Regions from separate parts of the Homo sapiens genome. Here region 2 is linked to region 1. The links are contacts of gene promoters, found by promoter capture Hi-C in blood cells and fetal thymus (Javierre and others, 2016). All regions are on one chromosome and are shown on one strand. The core of a region is centred on a gene start or on the middle of the fragment in contact, and the rest is flanking DNA. Distances in the headings are between cores, read along the strand shown.

The links. The method cuts DNA at HindIII sites, captures the fragments that hold promoters and counts their contacts. A CHiCAGO score of 5 or more calls a contact.
Region 2: a contact is called between a fragment that was not itself captured here and the fragment with the promoter of ZNF669 in region 1, in 2 of 17 cell types (M2 macrophages and M0 macrophages). The highest score is 7.0, in M2 macrophages.

The regions. Positions count from the first base shown.
Region 1 is chr1:247,099,649-247,106,396 of GRCh38, forward strand. It overlaps ZNF669 (zinc finger protein 669), which reads right to left and starts at 4,708. Exons shown (of 4, transcript NM_001142572.2): 1 at 4,549-4,708; 2 at 2,339-2,465; 3 at 2,083-2,143; 4 at 314-1,671. The coding sequence starts at 4,551. The coding sequence ends at 726. It overlaps FLJ39095 (a long non-coding RNA gene), which reads left to right and starts at 4,863. Exons shown (of 3, transcript NR_147502.1): 1 at 4,863-5,992; 2 at 6,345-6,503. RefSeq lists an enhancer at 4,659-4,953. The HindIII fragment of the contact is 5,762 bases long and covers 1,347-6,748 here.
Region 2 is chr1:247,359,062-247,365,473 of GRCh38, forward strand. All of the region lies in intron 1 of ZNF496-DT (ZNF496 divergent transcript), which reads left to right. Among named protein-coding and RNA genes, the nearest start is that of ZNF496-DT, 30 kb to the left of the region's middle. RefSeq lists an enhancer at 3,573-4,117. The HindIII fragment of the contact is 5,240 bases long and covers 2,097-6,412 here.

The DNA of each region.
Region 1 (6,748 bases), core at 3,458-5,957:
CTTTTTTGAGATGGAGTCTCACTCTGTCACCAGGCTGGAGTGCAGTGGTGCCATCTCAGCTAACTGCAACCTCCAACTCCCCGGTTCAAACGATTCTCCTGCCTCAGCCTCCTGAGTAGCTGGGATTACAAGCATATGCCACCACACCCAGCTAATTTTTGTGTTTTTAGTAGAGACGAGGTTTCACCATGTTGGCCAGGATGGTCTCAATCTCCCGACCTCGTGATCTGCATGCACAGGGCTTCCCCGCCTGCTGCGCACGGCTTTTCATGTCCTTGAAAAACAACTAAGACAACTGCAATGTGCCACCATGCCCAGCTAATTATTTTTTTATTTTATTTTATCTTATTTTTTGAGACAGAGTCTCACTCTGTCACCCAGGCTGAAGTGCAGTGGTGCGATCTCGGCTCACTGCAAGTTCCGCCTCCCGGGTTCATGCCATTCTCCTGCCTCAGCCTCCCGAGTAACTGGGACCACAGGCGTCTGCCACCACGCCCAGCTAATTTTTTGTATTTTTAGTAGAGACGGGGTTTCACCGTGTTGGCCAGGATGGTCTCGATCTCCTGACCTCGTGATCCACCCGCCTCGGCCTCCCAAAGTGCTGGGATTACAGGCGTAAGCCACCGTGCCCGGCATTATTTTATTTTTTGTAAAGACAGGGTTTCACCATGTTGCCCAGGTTGTTTCACATTGTTTTAATCCAGGCTGGTTATGAACTCCTGGGCTCAAGCAATCCACACGCCTTGGCCTCCCAAAGTGCTGGGATTATAGGCTGAGTCACTACACCCAGCCTCTATATCATGACTTCTTTCATGGCGAGTAAGGTGACTGGAACGAGTGTAGGCTTTACCGCATTTCTTACATTCATAGGGTTTTTCTCCAGTATGAATTCTTTCGTGGAGGTGAAGGGAACTGAGGCGACTGAAGGCTTGATCACATTGTTTACATTCATAGGGTTTCTCTCCGGTATGAGTACTTCTATGGTTACAAAGGGAACTCAAACGACTAAAGGCTTTGCCACATTGTTTACACTCATAGGGTCTCTCTCCAGTATGAATGCTTCCATGGTAACGAAGGGAAGTGGAACAGCTGAAGGCTTTATCACATTTGGTACATTTATAGGGTCTTTCTCCAGTGTGAGTCCTTTCATGCGTCTTAAAAGAACAAGAAAATCTGAATGTTTTCCCACATTCCTTACATTCGTAGGGTTTCTCTCCAGTGTGAGTTCGTTCATGTATTAGACAAGAACCGGAAACAGTGAATGCTTTACCACATTGTTTACATTTATAGGGTTTTTCTCCTGTGTGAGTTCTCTGATGTCTTTCAACTGAATTGAGAAAATAAAAAGCTTTCCCACATATCGTACATTTATAAGCTGGATTTCCACTGTGCATTATCATGTGTCTTCTAACACCTGGAACAGAAACGAAGAATTTCCCACACTGTTCACATTTATATTGCTTCTCTCCATATGGTTTGTATCCTGAGTGAGCTAGGATATGCCTATTAAGGAGGGAATGACGTACAAAGACTTTTCCACAAATACTGCATTCACATGGTTTTAATCCAGTAGAAATGTTCTCGTTCAGATCAAGATTTGGAATTTGGCTGACAACTTCTCCATACTGACCATCTTCTTTACTTTCACACAGTCTCTGTACGATATGATTTCTGTAAAAAAATGACAAGCACATTATTATTGGTTGGTTTATTAATAACTTTCTACTTATTAATAGGTCTTGGACTTACACTGCTACCAATATCAGGGAAAATGCATTTTTTTTTTTGCCATGACTGAATTATTTCAAAGTAAATGGGTTACTACTGAAAACACAGCTACCACCTGCATGGCTATGACCAAAATAGTAATATTCATATACACAGTTTTGTAGTACTATTTTCAAGTAAACTCTTTTGCAAACACTGACTGCTACATTGAAGTACGTTACATTTTGGGTGAAATTTTTCTAAAAATAAATAAATTTCAAGTGACTCTTATTTGTTTTGATTGCTTGTTTTTAAGTTCATGACATGCTAAGATTCCTTCAGAGGACTTTATTTCCTCTGCTCAGTGCAAATTACCTTATATCTTTCCCAGGTTTTTCGAAGTGATCTTCAATATTCTGGTCTTTCCATTGGCTTCCTAAAATGCAGACCCATAAAATTATCATGAATTATTACAAACTGTAGACACATTACTAGATTTAATGTTCACTGTACACAGTGCCCATGCCTGATTTATTCACCAAATCATTCCCTTGCCACATTCCAAATCATAAATAGCACTGATGATAGGGAAAGACTTCTGTAATTAACTGAAATGTGTTGTCATTCTTACCTACAGAAGCCAGGTTCCTGCAGGTTTCCTGCATCACTTCTCTGTAGAGATTCTTCTGAGAAGAATCTAGCAAAGCCCATTCCTCCTGGGTAAAGTTCACAGCCACATCCTCAAAAGCCACCGAGTCCTAGAACATTCCACACATGTGGATAGAAGGATGGGTGAGACTGACAGCACTGGGAATCTATACTCAATTCATAAGCTGTTTACATGATTTGATAATTTCCAAGCATTTATTCTATGACTTGATTGTCACAACTCTTACTCTGTTCACACATACTCCCTCCCACACAGCAGTACTAATGCTAGAATTGAACTATTCAAAAAGGCAACAGCAAAGTGGAAATACCCATCTCATTAGAGAATCCAGGGAGTAAGATGTGCTGCTAGGTTACCTCTTAATTTCACTTCGTACATTTCTAGTATCTGCCATAATAAAGTCCTACCTGATGTGCATAAGTGAGTTAATAATATCAGTCCTAAGACTACTTATTCTTAAAAATGCCTGCTCACAAAGTTCAATCTTTGTTTGTATTAGTAACTTACATTTTGAAAGGGATTCCACCAACCTAAGTAATAAGAATGACTCACTGCATCTAAATGGTTTATGCAATATAGTTGCCAAAACTTTTTCTGCTAAAGGTCTATTATTTTGTGTCACTGCAGTGGTGCTTAGGGAACCAGACACCAAAACACAGTCTGAACACTAAGTGTTTAATGAGTTTCCCTGGTAGACAATATTTTATATGTGCTGTCACTTGTTAATTGGGGAGTTGAGCCCATTCCATGTGATTACACCAAGAGAGAATAGGCTTATTAAATTTAATTGAGTAGTAAATAAAACCAATAATTGATATTTAACAATTTACTAATACAATTTTTAAATTTCTATTGCACAATGTCAAGGCAGAATGGAATAAGAGGAAATATGGCACATGTTTTTTAAAATGACATTAATGTCACCACTTCCAGATGCTATTCCTGTGAAATCACATAAATTCCCAAATCAGGCTTTTTTAGGCAAGAAAAACTAGTTTTTCATACCTAGTAAAAATGACAAATGTCTAATGATTTTCAGTCATCTAAAAAAAGAGTTATGTCTTGCCTAACATACTTTTAAGATTTTCAACCAAAAATATTCAGGACAGCACAGTATTAGCAGAGAGATGAGCAAGCAGACCAAGGGCTGAGGACACAACACCCTGTAAAGTTTTCACAGGGGGACATCAACCTAAAGACATTTTGGTAATATGCACACTTAGGAAAGATGAAGAGAGGCACAAAGATTTTTTTACAGTAGAGTGTCAGATGGTTTATTCTCCGCTTTCCTCTCATGTAAAATGTTTGTAAACAGAAAAATATTTTGGCCGAGCGCGGTGGCTCACGCCTGTAATCTCAGCGCTTTAGGAGGCCGAGACGGGCGGATCACTTAAGGTCAGGAGTTCGAGACCAACCTAGCCAACATGGCGAAACCCTGTCTCTACCAAAAATACAAAAATTAGCTGGGCGTGGTGGCGGGCGCCTGTAATCCCAACTACTCGGGAGGCTGAGGCAGGAGAATCGCTTGAACCCGGGAGTCAGAGGTTGCAATGAGTGAGACTGCATCATTGCACTCCAGCCTGGCGACAGGGCGAGATTCCGTCTCCAAAAAAAAAAAAAAAAAAAAAAAAAAAGAATATGGTTTGCTTCCTCATTAACCTTATCAAAGCCTCTCATTTACGCCCCTTCTGTGGACCCCAAACCACAAACCATGACTGCGGTACCTGGTTTATGAATCGCCGTTTGCTCAAACACACGGTTTAACGTTTTAACAAAGCCTCGGCTTAATTTTAGGGGAAGAAAGGTGGGACTGGAAGCCCCATGAACCACAGCTCCTCCCATGCTGGAACCCCGCACACCGAGACACCGAGTCGGGGCTCTCCCGCATCACCCTCCCGTGGTCACCACACTACCTGGATAGGGGAGGCGAGGGGTTCCCGACAGGGCTCCGGCCGGCGGAAGTGGCGCCCGCAGGTACAGACAGGATGCAGGGGTTCCGCTGCCCGCCCCGCCCGGCCCGGCCCTGAACAGAAGAGGACTGAGCCCCGGCTACGCCACGGCGACTCGGTCCGCAGGTTCCGGAGCCGATGGCGTGGAGGCCCGAGTCGCGCCACAGCAGGTTTCAACCAGCCCTCTTCTCCACTTCGGGAAGCCAGGCGCAGTCCACTCACCATTCCTCGGCTTCCCGGGTGTCCTGGCGTCAGCTAGGGATGTCCCAATACTCGCAGGTCACAGGGTGGCAGAGGCTGCTGCAGAGCCACCTGGGCCTCCCAGAGCCAAGAACTAGCAGCGGAGACTAACAGGAAGAGCCGGCTCCGGCGAAGGAGAGACAAAGCAACCGCCAGGCAGATCCCGGAAGCCGCCCTCTCCTTTCCGGCGGCGCGCCTGATTGAACGGTCCCCACCCCAGCGCCCCTGATTGGATGGGGCTTCAGGCCCCGCCCCTCAGGCCCTGAGTGACAGGAGATTGCGATCTCACGTGAGGCTGGATGAGGTCAGAATGACCGCTTTTGGCCTAGCGGTTTGTAGGCGGTGCGTCCTTCCTGCGCTGGGATCCGACCATGCAAGAAGGACATTCACATTTAACCTGTATACAAGTTATAGCTATTTGTGCCTTTTATATATATATATATATATAAAATTGGAAGCAATATAATGACAGTTCTGTAACTGCCCAGGGAGTTCACCTTGCCCGCTACCTAGACAGAGCCGATTTCTCAAGACAGGGGAATAGCAATAGAGAAAGAGTAATTCACGCAGTGTCCTCTGTGCGGGAGACCGGAGTTTTTTTATTTTATTTTATTTTTTTGAAACAGAATCTTGCTCTGTCTCCCAGGCTGGAGTGCAGGCTTGGAGTTTTATGATTATTCAAATCAGTCTCCCTGAGCATTTGGGGTAAGAGTATTTAGAACGTTTATTTTGCCAAGGTTGGGGATGCATATGCATGACACAGCCTCAGGATGTCCTTGATGACATGTGCCCAAGGTGGTCAGAGCACAGCTTGGTTTTGTTGGAGAGAAATGCTCGGTGCCGCAAAGTGAAACCAGCACTCAAGCGAAAGTTTTCTCAGCAACGCAATTTACTTCTGCAGAAGCGTGCTGCTCGCATCAATCACGATCGCAAGAGCACACTGAACAGAGGAAAGCAGGGGTTTTTATTCCTAACGCAGTCCCTACCTCTGGCATGGGCTGGGGTCAGACCGCACGATCTAAACTGACCCGGTTGGCTATTTGTGAATATTTTCCCAAATAAGGAAGGGGGAAGGGGGATGTGAGTTACAATGGTGGGACTTGCGGTTTCCAAGGGAGAAATGGGTGCAGAGCAGGTAACCAAGGGAACAGATGTGAGTTATTGATTAGAACTGACGGAAGGTTGTTTACAGTAACTAAGGGCAAGGAGGCATGGAGAACAAGAAAGTTGAGTTCGAAAACAAAAAAACAAGAAAGTTAACATGCCAAACCTTGGAAGAGAAACTGACTGTATCTGACAGCTTTATACATTTTAGGGAAACAGGAGACATCAATCAACATATGTAAGATGAACACTGGTTTGATCCGGGACAACCTGAAGCAAAAGCGGGTCAACTCGAAGCCAGGAGGGGGCTTCCAGGTCACAGGTAGGTGAGAGACAAACGGTTGCATTCTTTTGAGTTTCTGATTAGCCTTTCCAAAGGAGGCAATAAGATATGCATTCATCTCAGTGAGCAGGGGATGACTCTGAATAGAATGGGAGGCAGGTTTGCCCTAAGCAGTTCCCAGATTGACTTTCCCCTTTAGCTTAGTGATCTGGGGGGCTCAAAACATTTTCCTTTCCAATTTCCCCCTTTTCTTTTAAAAATATTTTGGAGAAAGCATTTTAGAAGAAAATCAGTCTCTGGTCCCAGGTTTTGTCCAATCTCTCATGGAGTAGCTGGGATTACAGGCACTGGACACCACGCCTGCCTAATTTTTTTTTTTTTTTTTTCGTAGAAATGGGGTCTCCCTCAGTTGCCCAGGCTGGTCTCTGGTGCCCAACGCCGGGCTCCCGGTAATCTCTACAAATAATCCAGTGAAGGAATGCCAGAGAGTGGAAAGTGGAGGATGACTGACAAAGGACGCCCGAGTACGTTTTCACTTCAAGCTCTACAGGTAAGTAGGGCGCTCGGAAAATTCCAGGGTAACCTCCGGAAACTATGGGTCAGGCTGAGAGTAAGTTTGCTAATTACTGAAGCCTTGTCCGGCAGTTACTGCGCCGCGGAGGGGTAATTGTGAGTACCCAAAATCTCCCATCTTTGTTCTATCTGGTAAAAAAGTATTCTCTTTGGTTCCCGGAATATGGAACCATGAATGTAAAAGACTGGGACAAGGTCGGATCAGACTTAAAACGAGCACAA
Region 2 (6,412 bases), core at 3,467-5,966, 260 kb after region 1:
CTTGCCTCTCTAGACAGGGGGCAGAGTTCCATAAGCCTATGGGAGAACTCTCAACTTGTACCCACATCCTAAACGTCACTGGTGAGTTGAGCAATGGCAATTACTCAGCTCTCCATACACCCCGGGCTGATGTCTGGTAGTATTATGGGAAAAGGAACCTACGTAACCTGTTACTGTCCAATGGGACCAGGACTTGTGCTTTAGTCTCATTGGCCATTCCCTTCACCCTGGCATCCCATAAGATACCCCAAAATACACATGGCCACTGAAACCAGAGAGATTTCACAAATTCTTTTAATCCCAATGTGTATGTTGACTCAATAGGAGACCCTGGTGGGGGTAGGGTTGCCTAATAAATTGAAGGCCTGAAACGCAGTAGGTGCTGGGTTTAAAGTCAGGACACTTCTGCTGGTCAACTATTAAGAAGAATGCGAATTAAATTAACTCCATCTATTATAATCAACAGGAATTCATCAATTATACTTGGGATGCCCTCAAAGGGTGGCTAGCCAGTTAGATGCCACCAGCTAAATGGCCTGGGAAAACAGACTTGCGCTAGACATGATACTAGAGAAAAAGGGAGCGTGTGTGTTATGCTGGGCGGGAAATTTTGTACTTTCATTCCCAGCAATACTGCCCCAAATGGGACCATCACAAAAGCTTTACAAGGACTAACAACTCTAGCCAACGAACTGGAAGAAATGCTCGGAATTAATGACCCATTTACGGGTTGGCTAGAAGGCTGATTTGGAAAATGGAAAGGAATGGTAGCTTCAATCCTTATATCTCTCATAATTGTGGCAGGATTCTTAATAGCAGTGGAATGTTGTATTATCCCTTGTGTGAGGGGACTAGCACAGAAATTAATTAAAACAGCTATTAATAAACAAATGCCCATGACTTACCAGCAAAATAACCTGCCACTATTAGAAAGCAAATTAAACTCACTCTCCTATGAGGAAGAAAGTAAACAACTTCTGGAGCGATTCACGGCCCAAAAGGGTTTAAAAGAAAATGAGAACAAAATAAGTAAATAGAAAAGAGGAGGGAATTGGTGAGAAAACCTTTTAAATGGTCCATTTGCAAGGCATGATAAGTCTAAGCACTGGCAGCCAGCCTGCAAATGTAAGAAACCACATGGCTCATGCACCCAGAAGGTCACAGTAAGTGGACAGAATGTAGAGGTGTGGTCAGCTCATAAAAGGGAAGAAAGTTTTGTTATGGGGAAATCAAAACTTAAGTGGGGAAGAGGACGGGGTATAACTTTGTAAGGGGGATAATGAAAGTTAGGCGATGTCCGGGAAGATTGTAACCCCACAGTACTCAACCAGTGAGGAACTGGGGGAGGGACTTGTGTGCTAGGACATAAATTACCCGTTGTGACCGCCCTGGTTGTGCCTGCTCACCAGACACCCGATCTCGCAAGACCGTTATGAAAAGTCTCCCTTTCGCTGTTCTTTGTGCCTCTAAGTCCATTCTTTGGGTTTGGATGGGTGAGTGTGTTTCTCACAAATGCACCACTGCACCCCTGCCTAGGTGACAGAGACAGACTGTGTCTCAAAAAAATGAAAATATCAGGGAACTCAATGCAAAAGACTGCGGCGCTTTAGACTTGAGAGTAACCTGCCCATGACCCTTGGGGCTCCGTGAGGAAGACAAAAGACCCCCAAAAGGAGGGTGTATGGCACCTTTTTCTGGTTTCTCAAGGGGTCTCAGGACTGCTAGAAGTTCCCTCTTGATTTCTTCGTGTGTTATTGAAGGTGGCAGAAAGGAAGAAGGGCCAACAGTAAATGGGAAAACAATTCTTAGAGGGCTCAATTTGGGAAGATTTTAAACTTCCCAAAAAGGCCAAGGATGTTTTACATTTTTCTCAGTAAAAATCATGCCGACAACAACAACAACAAAAAAGTGAACAGATGGAAGGAACATAAAATTGCTTTTTAACAAAATTTCAGTTGACTGAAAAGAATTCCCAGGGTAGGAACAGGATCCAAAGAGAAAAAGCATTGCTCTATATATCTGCCAGGGAAAAATCCCCCAAAAACTAAAAGAAAAAAGAAAAAGCAGAAGGGTGTGTTGAAAATACACAAGCAGCAAGCTTTCTGTTTCATGAGCACGTGGCCTAACACTGGAGTGGAAAGAATTTCGGCTGTGGAGCGCTCCCACCCGCTCTGCTCATGGGAGGAGCCCTGCCTCTCTTCAGCTTCCCAGCAGTGGTGGGAGACACACGTCTCTTCTGCCCACGGGAGGAAGCGAGACAAAAGAAAAAAGTTGCTATCACACTCTAAATACAAACCAGTTTTCTATCAAAGGTATACCTGAACAAATGACTCAACGCCAAGTGAAATAAGCACCAAGGAGACCAGAACCAAGAAGCCTTTCACGGCTTTCACCAAGGTCTCCAGAGAGGAGGCAAAAGTTGCAACCCTGCTCAGATCCAGACCACTCCAGGCAGCTCAAATAAAGGAGAATTTTAGTAGCTGCAAATGGGGCTACTGTCTGGCCATATTATCTAGGGTTTCAGCCTCTCAGCTGGCTGACTGCACACAAAGGCCTGACAACCCGTATCTCCCACAGACGGAAGATTGCATGGCAGTTTGTAAGATGGGAAGTCAAAAGCTGTCTGTGGGAATAGACAGGATTGCAAAGTGAAAGGGTACCCCAAAAGGTCAGAGTTATGCAAATACCAAACTAACTTTTTACAAATGTTTCTATTTGTTTTGTCCTGAGTTAAAAGATTTGCATTTCCAAGAGTCTGGTTTCCTGACTGGGAATCAAATCCAGGCTGTGGTGGTGAAAGCATGGAACCCAGGCCCTAGATTAGGGTGGCCCGTCTTCTTTGTAAATCCCAGGGGGATCCAAAACAGGCAGCTTGGGCGCACTATATATATATATATATATATATATATATATATATATATATATATATGTGACATATATATTATATATGTGACATATATATTATATATGTGATATATATATTATATATGTGACATATATATTATATGTGATATATATTATACATATATAACATATACATGTTAGAAATATATATTTTTTATATCATATATATATATTTGTTTGAGACAAAGTCTCGTTCTGTCACCCAGGCTGGCGTGCAGTGTGGTGTGCTCATGGTTTACTGCAGCCTCAACCTCCTAGGCTCAAGCAGTCCTCCTGCCTACCCCTGGCTGAGTAGCTGGGACCACAGGCGTGTGTCACGATGCCTGACTCATTTATTTGTTTATTTATTTTGTAGAGATGGGATCTCCCTATGTTGCCCAGTCTGTTCTCAAACTCCTAGGCTCAAGCAAGCCTTCCTTGACCTCCCGAAGTGTTGGGATTACAGGCATAAATCAGTGAATCCAGCTACACAAAGGATTTATAACTTAGTTGTAAATCTGATTTCTGCCTTAAAAAAAGAAATCCTGCTAAGGGAGTTTCTAAGGCTATATATTCCTTTTGTGTCTTTTCATAGGTACCAATAAGAAAGCTGTTTAAGACAAGAGCTCTTAGTGGCCGGGCGCGGTGGCTCACATCTGTAATCCCAGCACTTTGGGAGGCTGAGGCAGATGGATCACCTGAGGTCAGCAGTTCGAGGCCAGCTAGCCAAGATGGTGAAACCCTGTCTCCACTAAAAATACAAAAAAAAAAAAAAAAAAATTACCTGGGCATAGTGGTGCGCACCTGTAATCTCAGCCACTGGGGAGGCTGAGGCAGGAGAATTGCTTGAACCCGGGAGGCTGAAGTTGCAGTGAGCAGAGATTGCGCCACTGCAGTCCAGCCTGGGCGACAGAGTGAGACCTTGTCTCAAAAAAAAAAAAAAAAGAGACAAGAGCTCTCTAAAAAGTTTTCTTTTAAAATATAACTTTTTAACTTATTTATTATGTTTTTTCAAAATTTCAACTTTTATTTTAGATTCAGGGGATACATGTGTGGATTTGTTACATGGGTATATTGCATGATGCTGAGGTTTGGGGTGCAAAGCATCCTTTCACCCAGGTAGTGAGGATAGTACCCGATAGGTACTTTTTCAACTCTTGTCCCCCTCTCCCTCCACCTCTCCCCTTCTCCTCTCCCCCTCTCTCTCTCTCCCCTTCTCCTCTCCCCCTCTCTCACTCTCCCCTTCTCCTCTCCCCTCTCTCACTCTCCCCTTCTCCTCTCCCCTCTCTCACTCTCCCCTTCTCCTCTCCCCCTCTCTCTCTCTCCCCTTCTCCTCTCCCCCTCTCTCACTCTCCCCTTCTCCTCTCCCCTCTCTCACTCTCCTACTTTCCTACTCTCCCTGCTCTAGCAGGTCCCAGTGACTATTGTTTCCATCTTTATGTCCATGTGTATCCAACGTTTAGCTTCCGCTTATAAGTGAGAATGTGGCCGGGTGCGGTGGCTCACGCCTGTAATCCCAGCACTTTGGGAGGCAAAGGCAGGCGGATCACCTGAGATTGGGAGTTCAAGACCAGCCTGACCAACATGGAGAAACCTTGTCTCTACTAAAAATACAAAACTAGCCAGGCGTAGTGGCGCATGCCTGTAGTCCCAGCTAGTTGGGAGGCTGAGGCAGGAGAATCACTTGAACCTGGGAGGCCGAGGTTGCAGTGAGCCGAGATCACACCATTGTACTCCAGCCTGGGTAACAAGAGTGAAACTCCGTCTCAAAAAAAAGAAAAAAAATGTGAGAACATGCAGTATTTGATTTTCTGTTTCTGCGTTAGTTCACTTAAGATAATGGCCTCCAGCTGCATCCACATTGCTGCAAAGAACACAGTTTTGTTGCTTTTTATGGCTGTGTCGTATTCCGTAGTGTATACGTACCACATTTTATCCAATCCACTGTTGATGGGCACCTAGGTTGATTCCAGCCAATTTATTTATTCCATAAGTGACTCAAACCAATAATCATTTTTTTATGGAAAGTTCTGGAGGTAGCTTTCCAGGTTTAGAAGAGCATAGGTGTTTGTGGTGTATTTAAAATGAATGGGCCGGGTGCGGTGGCTCACGCCTGTAATCCCAGCAATTTGGGAGGCCGAAGCAGGCGGATCACAAGGTCAGGAGATCGAGACCATATTGGCTAACATGGTGAAACCCCATCTCTACTAAAAGTACAAAAAATCAGCTGGGCATGGTGGCAGGCGCCTGTAGTCCCAGCTACTCGGGAGGCTGAGGCAGGAGAATGGCGTGAACCCAGGAGGCGGAGTTTACAGTGAGCCGAGATCATGCCACTGCACTCCAGCCTGGGAGACAGAGCGAGACTCTATCTCAAAAAATAAAATAAAATAAATAAAATAAAATGAGTGCAGAAGATGCACCCCCTCCTATGATCCTTCCCAAAAAACACATTCTCAGAAATAGGCTAAGATAGCCGGGCCTGGTGGCTCACACCTGTATCCTAGCACTTTGGGAGGCTGAGGCAGGTAGGTCACCTGAGGTCAGGAGTTCAAGACCAGCCTGGCCAACATGGTGAAACCCCATCTCTACTGAAAATAACAAAAAATTAGCCAGATGTGGTGGCGCATGCCTGTAATCCCAGCTACTTAGGAGATTGAGGCAGGAGAATCACTTGAACCTGGGAGGCAGAGGTTGCAGTGAGCCGAGATCATGCCACTGCACTCCAGCCTGGTGACAGAGCGAGACTCTGTCTCAAAAAAGAAATAGGCTAAGCTAGCAAGAGGCTTGCTGCCATAGACAGCTAAGGATGGTGTTTACTCATGGGGTGCCTTAAGTATCCCACAAATTTGTGAGAGGCTGCCAGCCACAGACCTGTTAATCTGTGATAACTCCTGTGATTGGACTTTCCCAGGACTAACAGGGACAAACAAGCATTGCCATGACAAAAGTCCCTTATGTATGGGACTTAATACAAATGACCTTGAGTGCTCGGCACATTCAGAGCAGAGTGTGCTGCTTAGTATCTTACTTGTCAGGGGGTTCCCAGTCTTTTTAGACTGGTGATGTGGTTTGGCTGTGCCCCCACCCAAATCTCCACTTGAATTGTATCCCCCAGATTTCCCACGTATTGTGGGAGGGACCCAGGGGGAGGTAATTGAATCATAGGGGGCTGGTCTTTCCCATGCTATTCTCATGATAGTGAATAAGTCTCATGGGATCTGATGGGTTTATCAGGGGTTTCTGCTTCTGTTTCTTCCTCATTTTCTCTTGCCGCCGCCATGGAAGACATGCCTTTCGCCCTCCGCCATGATTCTGAGGCCTCCCCAACCATGCGGAACTGTAAGTCCTATTAAATCTCTTTTTCTTCTCAGTCTCGGGTATGTCTTTGTAAGCAGCATGAAAACAGACTAATATAGTAAATTGGTACCAGTAGAGGGGGGCATTGCTGAAAAGATGCCTGAAAATGTGGAAGCAACTTTGGAACTGGGTAACAGGCAGAGGTTGGAGGGCTCAGAAGAAGCAGGAAAAT